2 separate regions of the Homo sapiens genome follow, and region 2 is linked to region 1. Evidence: promoter capture Hi-C in 16 types of primary human blood cells and fetal thymus (Javierre and others, 2016). All regions are on one chromosome and are shown on one strand. Each heading gives the region's core, a stretch centred on a gene start or on the middle of the fragment in contact. The rest is flanking DNA. Distances are from core to core; before and after follow the strand shown.

Region 1 (6,812 bases), core at 4,003-6,502:
ATAATTTCTTACAATAAGTAATAAGAAGGAGATACGGGAGTTCGAAACCAGCCTGACCAGCATGGAGAAATCTTGTCTCTACTAAAATAATACAAAATCAGCTGGGCGCGGTGGCACATGCTTGTAATCCCAGCTACTCAGGAGGCTGAGGCAGGAGAATCACTTGAATCCAGTAGGCGCAGTTTGCAGTGAGCCAAGATCACGACATTGCACTCCAGCCTGAGCAACAGGAGCGAAACTCTGTCTCAAAAAAAAAAAAAAAGAAGGAGATGTTCTGTGCTCTTTAGCTTTCTGATCATATGAAAAAAAAAATTTTATAAACAAAGAGATATGAGCCCTAGCTTCCAATTTGGCTGTATCAAATTCATTATGACCTGTGGCAAGTCACTTGCCTTCTCTAGTGTTCAGTGGCCTCATTTGTGAAACCAGAGCTGATGTGTAAGCTAACTTTCCTTCCTTCCTTCCTTCCTTTTCTTTCCTTTTTTTTTTTTTTTTTTTTTTTTTGAAACAGAGTCTTGCTTTGTCGCCCAGGCTGGAGTGCAATGGTGCGATCTTGGCTCACTGTAACCTCCACTTCCTGGGTTCAAGCAATTCTCCTGCCTGAGACTCCTCAGTAGCTGGGATTACAGGCACGCGCCACCACTCCCGCTAATTTATTTTTTTAATTCTTAGTAGAGATGGGGGTTCACCATGTTGGTCAGGTTGGTCCTGAACTCCTGGCCTCAAGTGATCCACCCACCTCGGCCTCCCAAAGTTCTGGGATTACAGGCGTGAGCCACCATGCCCGGCTAAACTTTCTTTTAGTTGTGGGTTTTGGCTACTCTGTATAGCAAGGAGCGGTCTTGCTTTCCATATCAATACCATTAATGTCCATGGTTCCTTTTTTTCCCCCTGTAAGGACTGCAGATTTATGGGTCACCCCAGTTTATAAAATGAGAATATCAGATACAGAACAAATGTGTGCTTTGGCCAAGCTTCCAGGCATAGAGTGTGTGCATGTGTATGTGTGTGCGGGGTTGCTTACACCTTACTACAGGTCTCTGGCTTCGAATGGACTCTTTCGTCCCAGAGTTGCTCAGCAGGCCTTTCCAAGTACAGGACTGTCAACCATTTGTTGTTTGTGTGCCCAGTCTCTGCTTTGTGAATGACCACAGTGCATGGCATTCCAACTGTTTCCTCTTGTCCCTCTGCACACTCCTAGGGCCAGAATGTCCACTGGCATGTTCAGTAAGATCTGTTCAAGCACTGTCCTGCTTATGTCACTGGAGGAGATATAAGACACCAGTCCTTGCCCTCTGAAGCTTCTAGCCTACATGGGAAGCCAGTACAAGGATGTGTGTATGTGGGGAAAGATGCACTATCATAAGTGAGGGAGAGCCTGGGAGTTATGTGCTGCTTTTTTTTTTTTTTTTTTTTGACAGAGTCTCTCACTCTGTCGCCCAGACTGGAGTGCAGTGGCGTGATCTTGGCTCACTGCAACCTCTGCTTCCTGGCTTCAAACCGTTCTCCTGCCTCAGACTTCCAAGTAGCTGGGATTACAGGCGTGCACCATGATGCCCTGCTATTTTTTTTTTTTTTTTGTATTTTTAGTAGAGACGGGGTTTCGCCGTGATCAACCCACCTCAGCCTCCCTAGGTGCTGGGATTACAGGCATGAGCCATCACACCCGGCTGCTGCTTTGATGTGTCTCCAGTATCTAGAACAGTCCTTGGTATGTGGAAGATGCCCAACAAATATATGAAAATGTGTGAAAATTGCTATGGTTTTCAAACTTGATATTGTAAGGGACAGCTTTTCTTCAAAGAAATCATACCTGGAGGCTCAGTTATGTGAAACAGATGGATACAATACTGCCCTGCTTGAGGGGAGCTAGGGTCAAAGCCTGTCTGCTTGTCTCCTCTGAGCCCCAAAGAGATTCTTGAGAGTCCAGTTGGAAAACTACTAGTTGAAAATGAGGGGCAGCTCAATCCTTGCTCTCTCTTCTTGGTTAACCTTAGCCACAAGGTGATCCTAGCAAAATAAATGGAGGTTTAAAGAACCTTACACTCCAAAGGGAATATTTGCACCTGAAAAAGATGGTGTTAATCTCCCCCTTCCCCTCATTCCAGGGGGGCTCCAATTAGTAAGAGCAGAGGGAAGGAAATTCTGAGTAGGAGACTTCTGAATTGGTTCAACAATGTCTATCAATGTAATGGTAATATTTGTTTAACTTAAACAAACAAAGAAAGAAAACCACTGTGATAATGTTTTTCAGCATTCAATAGAAACCCACTTGGTGTTGTCCTACAGGCAGTCTTGATTACAATGTAAAACTCCCTGTGGAGTCTGGTCAGTGAGTAGCTGGTACTGCCATTTACACCAGAGTACCTCGCATTATCCAGACTGCTATTCACATTCCTGACCAAGTTCACGGTCAACCTCCTGCACTGGCAGCCAAGAGGGCCTGCCTGGAGAGAGCTTCTCTTCTCCATGCCTGCAGGACTGTGACTCTCTACCTGACCTGGCCCTCTCTTAGCCTTCCTACCATAACAGGGCAAGGGAGGGGAATCAACCCAGGGGATATTCCCTTGTCAAGGTCATCCACGGAGCAAAGCACATCCCAGATTTGCATCTAGGAAACAATTTTGGGTAACAGACATATATATATATATTTTAGATATGTCAAAGGGGTAAAGCTCTTGAATTAAGATGGTTTCATCATTATCTATCTCATGAATCTCTACCTTCCCCAACGACTGTCCTTCCTCACAGATGCCTGAAGGGGCAGGCAGATAATTAGTGCTGGGGACCTCATTTGATAGTAGGGGAAACTGAGAGGTGAAAAGAGCTCCCTTCAGTTAGATAGCAACTCACCAGGAACTCCAGTTTCTCCCCTACTGCTTGGTATGGCCACCTCCTCCACCTCTTAGCCAGTCCTCCGACTTCTACATCTTAAAAATCTAGCTCAGGGGCCAGGCGCGGTGGCTCACACCTGTAATTCCAGCACTTTGGGAGGCTGAGGCGGGCGGATCACCTGAGGTCAGGAGTTCGAGACCAGCCTGACCAACATGGAGAAACCCCGTCTCTACTAAAAATACAAAAAAATTAGCCAGCTGTGGTGGCACGTGCCTGTAATCCCAGCTACTTGGGAGGCTGAGGCAGGAGAATCACTTGAACCTGGGAGGCGGAGGTTGTGGTGAGCTGAGATCGTTCCATTGCACTCCAGCCTGGGCAACAATAGCCAAACTCCATCTCAAAAAAAAAAAAAAAATCTAGCTCAGGTCTGACCCCGACTAAATGGACAATCTTCCATTGATTTCCCATCCCCTCAACCCCGGTTCAAGCCACCATCCACAGCATTTGGACTAGTCATTTGTACTTAAGTAACTGAGTTAGTATCATGAAATTTGGTCTTAGGATCAAAGCCACTCAAGGTTAGAGCTGGAGGGAACCTTGGAGATTAAGAGAAACTAAGGTTTGGAGAACCTACCTAAGGTTTCATAGCAAATATGTGACAAATCCAAGGCTTCAAGCCAAGTTTTCCAATGTGTCCCTCGTGCTTTCCTGACTACATCTGGAGTTTCTCTATTTCTTCTTCTCCTTCTCCTTCTTCTTCATTTTTTTTTTTTTTCGTGTGTGTGTCTTTTTTCCCCTATGTGATGCTTCCTTTCTGCCCTGTGACCCTCTCCCTCTGTCCTGTCTTATTAGAAAGAGGCTCTAGAGCTGGCTGCATAGTACCTGTTCTCTGGGACCTTGGTGTTGATCTAAGACTGGTTTAACTACCTAAAGAGAAGCAGAGACCCGAGGGGGCCTGCCATAACCCAACTCTGAAACATGACTTAATCCCAAGTAAGATCAGCTCTAACATTTGTTCAGAAGCAAAAATGATGGATTCTAAAGTTTGACTTCCCCAAGGTCATCTGGCTAAGAGGTGGCTGCAGCAGGGGGCAACAATAGGTCTTCAGGCCCCTGGGGCGGCAACCTGGCACTGCCCAAGAGCCCGCAGGCTCTGAAGGCCAACTGAGCCAGCGGCAAGCCTAGTCCCTGCCTCCCTGCTTGGAGCAGTGCGACTATACCGTTTTCTGTCTGCTCATTTGTGAGCTTGGTTCCCGTCCTAAATGTGGGGGTTCAAGGCAGACAAAGAGTGTGCAGTTGGCCACCCCGCTCGCCTTCAGGAAGTGTGTAGGACACCGTCGAGGCCCCCTAGCCATTGTAAACCAGGCGCTGAGGCTCGTGCCCAGTTGTACCCTTCCCGCGCAGCGCTCAGGAGCGACAAACCTGGAGGCTATTCGGTCTGCCACTGGGCTGTGCCGGGATTCGCGGACTTTCTCCTGAATAGCGCTCTCAGCTCGCGTCTTCCCCCTGCCACTCTCCCACGCCCCCAGAGTACCCACCGACCCCAGCAGGCCGGGTACATCCCTGCCGCGCCCATCCGGCCAGTGGCTCCAGGGGCCGGCCTGGTGTGTCTCCAGCTGGGCGCCTACCGCCTGCCCCAGCGCTAGTTCTGGCGTTGGGGGTAGAGAGGTAAAGAGGGGAGTTAGCGGGGCATCTCCCTCCCAGGGCTGAGCCGGCAAGCGCATCTTCTCCGCGAGTTCCTCACTGTCCAGCGAGCGCTGCCCAACTTCTGCGCCGGTGGGACCCGCTGCTCTGAGTCACTCTTGGCACAGAACACCAAGCACCCTCAGAAACCGAATTCACCACCTTTGGGAGGCTCCTGGGAGAAGGCAAGGAACCCAGGCGGGGCTCCCAGGGCTCTCGGGCTGGGACTGGGTTGTGTGTGTGTGGGGGGGCTTCACGGATACCCCTCCCAACCTGCTTCCTTTCCCTGACAGCAGCCATCTCCCCCAAGAGGGAGAGTCTTAGGCGTCCCGGAAGACCCTGCGGACTGTGCACCTCGAGGTACCAGCCTCTCCTGGGAGGAGTGGGGGGCCGCTGGTCAGCGGCTGGCAGAGGGGACCTGTTTGCTGGCCCGTTTGGAGGTGGGATGGAGTGGGGTTTGGAGACTGAGAAGCCCAAGAGAAGACACTGAGTTTCTCCCCACCCCACAACCCCACTTCCGAAAAAGAACCAGGTGGTGAGGAGGAATAAGGCGAAGTGTAAACACAAACAACCTCAAAAAGAAGCCAAGAAAAGCGAAGCCCAAAGAAGCAAGAGCAACACTGTTACAAAACTGTCTGGTTTTGTAACAATTTCCCCGCCGCCGGCCAATGAACAGCGTGGCGGCACGTCACGTGGTACCGTTTTATATAACACTTTGCTGAGACAAGACAGTTATTAGGCGGCGCGGGGCGGCCGGCATGGAGCTCCCGGAGGCGCGGCAGGGTCAGGAGCTCGGTGGCATGGCGGCGGTGGCTGCCCCGATTTCCTCCAGCTGCCACTCCTTGCTTCGTGTCCCCGGTCCCTAGACGCCTCGTCTCCTCCCGTGTCCCTCTTCCCATGGAGTCAGTACGGATCGAACAGATGCTGAGCTTGCCCGCTGAGGTCAGCAGCGACAACTTGGAGTCGGCGGAGCGAGGGGCATCAGCGGCCCAAGTAGACATGGGCCCCCACCCAAAGGTGGCTGCAGAGGGCCCCGCACCTCTACCGACGCGGGAGCCAGAGCAAGAGCAGTCTCCGGGGACCTCAACGCCGGAGAGCAAAGTCCTGCTCACGCAGGCAGACGCCTTGGCGTCCCGGGGGCGAATCCGTGAAGCCCTCGAGGTGTATAGACAGCTCTCCGAGCGGCAGCAGCTGGTGGCTGAGCAGCTGGAGCAGCTGGTGCGCTGCCTGGCGGAGAAAGTCCCGCAAGGCGAGGCGCTGGCGCCGGCGCCCCCGGACGAGGGTAGCACTGCAAGCGGCACCGTGGCGGCGGAAGAGACGGGGGCCGCCGCGGCTGCGGCGGCCACCGAGGTGTGGGACGGCTTTAAGTGCCGGAAATGTCATGGGTTTCTATCAGACCCCGTGTCCTTGTCGTGTGGCCACACCTTTTGTAAACTGTGCCTGGAACGTGGGCGGGCCGCCGACCGGCGCTGTGCGCTGTGCGGGGTCAAGCTCTCCGCCTTGATGGTGGCCACTGGGCGGGCGCGTGGAGCCCGGCGGGCTGGGCAGCAGCCGCCGCCGCCGCTGCGAGTCAACGTGGTGCTCAGCGGCCTCCTCGGCAAGTTGTTTCCAGGCCCAGCGCGAGCGTCGCAACTCCGGCACGAGGGCAACCGACTGTACCGCGAGCGCCAGGTGGAGGCGGCACTGCTCAAGTACAACGAGGCAGTTAAGTTGGGTGAGTCCAACGCGCTGCCGGGCCGGGGCTGGGGCTCGGTGGCTACATGAGGGAGCGGGAGAACAAACCCCGCAGCGAGAAGGGATTTGGACCAGGGCAGAAGAGGGGGCGGGGGACCCATGGACTGTGGCGGGGTGGGGGAGGGGTGATTCTGGGGCTGGGTCTCTGAGTTTGTTCTGTTTTCACTGCTTATCTGTGTTTCACTGTGTTTGTGTTGATCTCGGTTGCTTTTTGTCTTTTCCTGCTACTTCTGTTAGCTTTTGTGTTCCTGTCTCTCAGTCCCCGTTCCTGTCTGTGTCTCCTTGCTTCTGGTTCTTTTTCTCCGTCTCTTCGTATCTTTGTCACTGTTTCTTTCTTTTTCGGTGTCACTGTCTCTGTTCCTCTGACTCTCCTTCTCCCGCTGCACTCCTGGTCTCCTCTTACACCTGCTCGCACCTTCCCAGCGAGGAGAGGAACTTCGCGCGCTCCTCGCACTTGCGCCCGGTCCTCTGGGCTGTAGCCAGCAGGAGATGTCCGGTCGGCGCCTGCGTCCGCCGCTCGCGCCGCCGGGTGTTGCCCCTTCCGGGGCCGCGGCTCCCTG
Region 2 (6,812 bases), core at 1,286-3,785, 420 kb after region 1:
CTCTCCACAGACTTTTCAACAAGTGTGAAAAAGAGGCAATAAGGTTGGCTTGAGTATACAAGTCACAATCCAAATACAGGATATCCTCGGAGATTTATTTATGTTTAGGATGAATATACATAAGGTGCCCAATGCTAAGCAGATGAATGAGACTCTGGCTGAGTAAAATATGAACACCTGGTTAGCACATGATCATGAAAAGACAGAAGGCATCCAATATATAGTTTGGTGTTATTCATTTTATGCTTCAGTGTACCTGCAGTGAAAAATATACATTTTACTTTCTTTTTTTTTGAGACGGAGTCTCGCTGTCACCCAGGCTGGAGTGCAGTGGCGTGATCTCGGCTCACTGCAGGCTCCGCCCTCCAGGGTTCACGCCATTCTCCTGCCTCAGCCTCCCAAGTAGGTGGGACTACAGGCGCCCGCCACCTCGCCCGGCTAATTTTTTGTATTTTCAGTAGAGACGGGGTTTCACCGTGTTAGCCAGGATGGTCTCGATCTCCTGACCTCGTGATCCGCCCGCCTCAGCCTCCCAAAGTGCTGGGATTATAGGCGTGAGCCACCGCGCCCGGCCATACATTTTACTTTCAAGGTTAAAATAGGCCAGGCGCGGTGGCTCATGCCTGTAATTTCGGCACTTTGGGAGGCCGAGGCAGGTGGATCATCTGAGGTCAGGAATTCGAGACCAGCCTGGCCAACATGGCGAACCCCATCTCTACTGAAAATACAAAAAAATTAGTTGGGTATGGTGGCACATGCCTGTAGTCCCAGCTACTTAGGAGGCTGAGGCAGGAGAATCGCTTGAACCTAGGAGGCAGAGGTTACAGTGAGCCAAGACCATGCCACTGCACTTCACCCTGGGCGACAGAGCGAGACTCTGTCTCAAAAAAAAAAAAAACATAACTTGGCTGACCCAATCTCCATACAATGGGGTTATCACATGAAATGTTCCAGACCCACGAACTTCCTGAAAGAGCTTTAGAATCTTGTCCCGTTATCCAACAAAGGGCTTTAGGAAGTACCAGTACCCGAAGGTTTCCTTATTGTAATCCCCAAATTCCAATTCAAGCCCTTTTAAAGTCGGGGTCCTCCGGTCTTCAGAGTCATACATCTTTCTCAAGCTTCCCCCAGCCATCAAATTAGCTTACAACAAGACAGAAGAATTCACAAAACATGAAAATAAGCATTCCCCAATTGTTGAGAGCAGAGTATGGCTTCTGCAACTAGAACAAGTTCTCACAGTCAAAACCTTGTAATGTCATACTCAAGTGAGATTGACAGTGAAAAATAAAAAAGGAGAAACCCTGCAATGCCTTTTAGAAAACGTTCCTATAGCATTGTGTGTTAGTAAATGTAAATAACTATACAAGCCTAAAAACAACTATGTACCCGGAACATCTTGCTCACACCAACAGACTGCTGACAGTTCCTTTCCTTGTAATTATTAGTGACATGGCTTTTTTAGAAAAAAAAGAGACAGAAAGAAATTCTGAAATTCTGAAATTTTTGAACTGATTAAAGAATCCTCGGATTCTGGCCAAGCCTCTCTTAGCCATTCTTTGCCTCTATTGTTCTCTTAGCTTACAGAACCACTGAAAATGTCCCTACTGGAGTTAACTCTGCAGTCCTAGTAGACATATAGTGTAGCCGTTAGTGGAAACTGACATAAACCGCCCTAGATTTCAAACCGGTCTCTGCTTTGTAGGTAGCTGTGTGAGCCTGAGCAAGTCCTCTCTGTGTCTTGGTTTCCTCTCCTGTAAATGAATACCTAATCAGAACTAACACATATAAACTGCTTACCCATACCAGTCATTGTTCATTAATCCTTACAACAACCCCTAGGAGGAAAAAATTATAATCTCTGTTTTATAAAGCAACTGACACACAGAGAGGTTGAGTGACTTCCCCAAGGTCCCACAGCTGGTAAGCTGCAGAGCCAAGAATCTTACACAGGTTCAAGAGTCCAGATTCAAGTCCCCACACCCACACAGCCTCTGTCAATGAGGACATACGTACTTAGGGCCGTTTTGAGGATTACATGAGAACGTCTGTAAAGCCCAGTACTTGACAAGTGCCTGAGAGATAGCAACTGTGGTTGTTAGAATTTTTTACCTTCTGCACTGGGAAACCATCAAGGCTTTTTGGTTAGGCAGGAAAAAAAAATGGGTTGGAGGCAAGAGGAGGAGGAGGGAAGCGCCAGGGGAGGAAGACAGAGAAGTGGCACGTGAAAGGGAGAAAAGGGGCAAACCAGAGGAGAGGCAGGGAGGGGCGGCGGGGGCGCACTGAACATTTAGGAAGCAAGATGTCTAGCAGGCTGGGCCTTGAGAGAACAGTAACTGTTTCGCAACTGAAAGTCGCTACTCGAGCCTTGCCAACTGGGGAGACTATGCCCATGATATCCGCGGCCTCGGACCCCGGACCCTCCAGGCCCTCGCGCCCCACCCCCGACCAGCCTCGGGCCAGGCTAGGGCGTAGACGGGGCTTCCCGTCCCTCACGCGGGCCCGCCCCATGCCGGGCGGGGCCTGGGGCCCGCCACCTCCGCCCGTGGCCGGAGAGCCCCAGGCCCGAGCCACGCGGTCTTCCGGGCCCGGGTCGGGGCTCGATGGCTACGTGGAGGCGGGACGGCCGACTGACAGGCGGCCAAAGGCTGCTGTGCGCTGGGCTGGCGGGGACGCTCAGCCTCAGCCTCACCGCGCCCCTGGAGCTCGCCACCGTGCTGGCCCAGGTTGGCGTCGTGCGAGGCCACGCCCGGGGACCGTGGGCCACAGGGCACCGGGTGTGGCGGGCAGAGGGGCTCCGGGCCCTGTGGAAGGGGAACGCGGTGGCGTGCCTGCGCCTCTTCCCCTGCAGCGCCGTGCAGCTCGCCGCCTACCGCAAGTAAGAGCCGGGCGGGGCCGGGGAACCGGGAGACCGGACGGGGGTGGGGTGGGGGAGCCGCGGCCCGACGCCGCCCTGCTGCCTGGACTCGGGGCCCTGGAGTAGGGACGGCCCCCTTGTCGATCACCTGGGGACCCCTCGGGGCGGTGGGCCACCTCTATGGCCCCCAGAGTGCAGCCCCAATGCTTTTCACGTTCTCTTGGGGTTACCGCCCTGCAAGATGCAGTTTTGTGGTCCGCAGCCCTGGTCCGAGAGGCTTTCCGGATTGGACCGGGCGAGGAGGTGGAATGCAGCAAAGGATTTGGAGGAAAGGAATGAAAAGCTCTCCAGAGAGATGAGTCCTAACCATTTCCACCGTCCTCCAATTTGGAAACTTTTGCTTAGGCTGGCTTAGGAAGAGAGAGACCCTTTTAAAGGTGTTTTTGTCTGTGTGACCCAAGCCCCGAGAAGAAAGTGCTTGGTGTGGGGAAAGGACCCGATCCATCGATACGAAAAGGCCGCAGATTTTTGCCCACACATCTCCCCAACTTAAATGAAGCTTGACTTCAGGCTCCGACAGAGGCTGCAGCTTCCCCTCCCCAAGCTGAGAACGGCCCCCTCAGCCTACCGCTTCACCCCACTGGCCTCATTTATTTGGGCCTTTTCCACCTTCTCCCACATCAACAGCTGCTCCTTAGGAAAAGATCTAAAGGTGTAAATGCAGCCTTAAAGCTTCCACCGAGCTCAGAGGTACCTGCATTTGAACTGGAAACCAAGCCTGAAAGAATGAATTGGTAGTGATGGCATTTCAGGAAGCAGAGATGTTTCTGTATTGGGGGGACGGTCCCTGTGTTCCTCATTCAGTGGGCACAGTGGCATCTTTGATATCGCCTTGGCTCTGAATTAGACAAACAGCCCACATTTGGGAGAGTCGGTCTTGACCGCATAGTTTAGTCTTGGCGGCTAATAGTCAAAGGATTTTGCCTTGACACTGTCACTCACCTGGGAGGCCAGAGGTGGAAGGCTCACCTGGCAGCCGACAAGCCGAACGGAATCATCCTTATTACCTAGGCCTCTAGGCCAGTACTCATTTTGCCTCTGCCTGGAAATAGAGTTCCCTTCTCTTCCTCTGCAGAGGGACTCATGGGTGGGACCATGACATTTAGTTAAGGCCCTTTTTCCTCCCCACCTCTGCTTGCCCTCATCAACATCTGGCCTGCAGTCTGTAAACAGTTCTCCTCTGAGTCTTAATGACTCAGTTTCTCCCCCACTTCACCCTCTTCTCTACAAAGTAGTGTGGAAATCTTCCTTTGGATGGGATAAAATATGTCCAGAGGGGTGGGGGGCAGAACTTCAAAGGCTGGTTTAAGTATTGTGGCTCTTCTGCTAAGCACCTAGTATATGCACATTAGATTTTTTAAGCTCCTGCCTCCTGCCCTGTAAGGTCCATAGGACAGGAAGCATTGTGCCTGTTTTACAGATGCAGAATTGGGCTCAGAGTGATGACACCTCTTGTCAGTGACCGAGCTGAGCTCCACTACCTGGCCTTCTGACTCCAAATCTCATAGTCTTTCTGTTACATCATGCTGCCTCCCTGCATCCATTTGACACTAATTTAGTCAGGCTACATTAAGTCCCCACTGTGTGCACGATGCTGAGGACAATGCCAGGATGGAAGGGGCATGGTCCCTGTGCCCCAGGAGCTTACAGAGTAATAGAAGAGTAAGACTAATATGTCCATGACCATAACACACAAGGTAGCATGTGATTGTCATGGATAATGTGCTCTAGAAATGTACCCTTCTGATGAGCGATGAGGAGGAGAAAATGTGAAGACTTCATAGAGGAGAAAAAAATTTGAGTTTGGCATTGGGAGAATGAGGAGTCTGCTGGGCAGAGATGGAGAGAAAGATACTGCAGTTGATGTCAGCAAATGCACAGAGGTGGGAAGGCAAGCAGCACAACAGGAAGTCCAACCAGAAAAGCAGGTTGGAATGAGATATTAGAGGGTTGGATTAAGGGATTTGGACTTGACTTGGTATCCAAGGGTAGCTGTGGGAGGTTTTTGTGGGGGGTGGGGGGAGGTGTGTTGTGATTAAAGCAATTCAATGGAAATGATCGTCACATCGTGGCAGAGTAAGATGACTAGAGAGGAGGAAGAGTGGAGACAGCAGGGCCAGTTAGGAACCTGTTGCACTAGTCCACATAGCAGCTGAGGGCACCGGCAATAGGTGACCATGGGAGCAGAGAGGAGGAGATGTCTGGGAGAACGAGAACAGAGACTTACCTGGGCTAGGTTTGCTAGGAATTTTTTTTCCCCTACAGGATTATTTTCTTTCTGAAAACTAAAAGGAAGTATTTTGGTGAATGGCAAGGCATAGTTGGAAAGCAAAGTGTTTGATTAATCGCGATGCCATCCTTCCTACATCAACATGATACTCTTGATTCATCATTATACTGATTCATTTCTACTCTTTTCTGACCATGAATTTGCAAAACAGTTGGCTGGGGGCCTGTGATCATGGGTTTGAACAAAACATAAACATCCAGAATGTTCAGGGAATGGGGTAGTTAAGTGACTTGTCCACAAATGCAATTAATGGAAGAGCTGGAACTTGAAGCCAAGTCTTCTGGCTCCTTAGTTCAGGTCTCTGTCTACCATTGCACAGCAGAAATATCTGCTTAGTTGGATTGACGATCAAGAGTCCACTCAGTAGTCTGTTGGGAGCTAGGTTATTGTAATGGGTGGCTTTCAGATGTATCAAATAGAAGACCCCCCCGCCCTGGAACTTCACAACCGCTTGTCTATCTTATCTAATAAACGTTAGTTTGGGTCCCTGCAGCTCTGAAATTGTTCATAACCAACACTATTTCTTTATTGAATAAGCACTTCATGAGCTTATGTTTGGCTGCACTGGCTGCCAACCTGTTAGGTTGAAGTATTGGCAGTTATAATTACACATATCCAGGGTGTGTGTTGTATCTGTGCTGGCTGAAAGGAAGGGGTTGCTGCAATTCACCAGTGTATCCAGTCTCACTGGAAAAAGCTTCTGTGCATGTATGTGTGGGGGTGGGAGGAAGAACAGAAAAGGGAACAGTGCCGCCCTAGCAAATCAAAAGTTTAAGATGCATGGACTGAGATGACATCATTGGCGGATTATCAGGGTTGCCTGCCCTGACTCTGAGATTCTAAGGGGAACAATTGATAGGACTTATCTCTGTATCAGATGGGAGAAGTCTGCGAAAAAAGGACTTCCTATGGTTCTTCTTTTTAATTGTGTATATTTGATATTGAGACTCTATAAAAGAAACTGATATAAAATACGGCTCCTCTTCCTAGTTCATCAAGTCATTCAGTGAATTAAGGGCCTGTTTCCTCTCCGCTTGCCCCTACCAGTCATTTCCTTGTCAGAAGTGTTGAACTCCCTTAGGCTCTATGCTGAGGACTAACACAGGGTCTGATACATTGTAGACCTTCAATAAATGAGTAGTGAATTAACTATGCCCTAGAAGTGACCAAGTGGGATGGGGAATAAGAGTGGGACAAGGAGAATGAATGGTATTTCTTTGGGCATTTCAAACTCCACCTTCTAGGTGGTTCCAGCTTGCTGCAGACCGCCCCTCCAGTCAAAAATTTCTTTTTTTTTTTTTGGAAGAAGTATTGCTCTGTCGCCCAAGTTGGAGTGCAGTGACGCAATCTCGGCTCACTGCAACCTCCACCTCCCGGGTTCAAGCGATTCTCCTGCCTCAGCCTTCCGAGTAGCTGGGATTACAGGTGCACGCCACCATGCCTGGCTAATTTTTGTATTTTCAGTAGAGACGGGGTTTCACTATGTTGACCAGGCTGGTCTCGAATTCCTGACCTCGTGATCCACCTGCCTTGGCCTTCCAAAGTGCTGGGATTACAGGCGTGAGCCACCACGCCCAGCCCCAGTCAAAAATTTCTACTTCCTCT

The links. Contacts are between HindIII fragments. The CHiCAGO score rates a contact against its expected background, and 5 or more counts as called.
Region 2: a contact is called between the fragment with the promoter of SLC25A43 here and the fragment with the promoter of LONRF3 in region 1, in 7 of 17 cell types (activated CD4 T cells, monocytes, naive CD8 T cells and 4 more). The highest score is 7.4, in activated CD4 T cells.

The regions. Positions count from the first base shown.
Region 1 is chrX:118,969,366-118,976,177 of GRCh38, forward strand. It overlaps LONRF3 (LON peptidase N-terminal domain and ring finger 3), which reads left to right and starts at 5,253. Exons shown (of 11, transcript NM_001031855.3): 1 at 5,253-6,232. The coding sequence starts at 5,416. The HindIII fragment of the contact is 6,269 bases long and covers 1,300-6,812 here.
Region 2 is chrX:119,396,801-119,403,612 of GRCh38, forward strand. It overlaps SLC25A43 (solute carrier family 25 member 43), which reads left to right and starts at 2,536. Exons shown (of 5, transcript NM_145305.3): 1 at 2,536-2,878. The coding sequence starts at 2,604. RefSeq lists a silencer at 2,400-3,059. The HindIII fragment of the contact is 2,295 bases long and covers 1,120-3,414 here.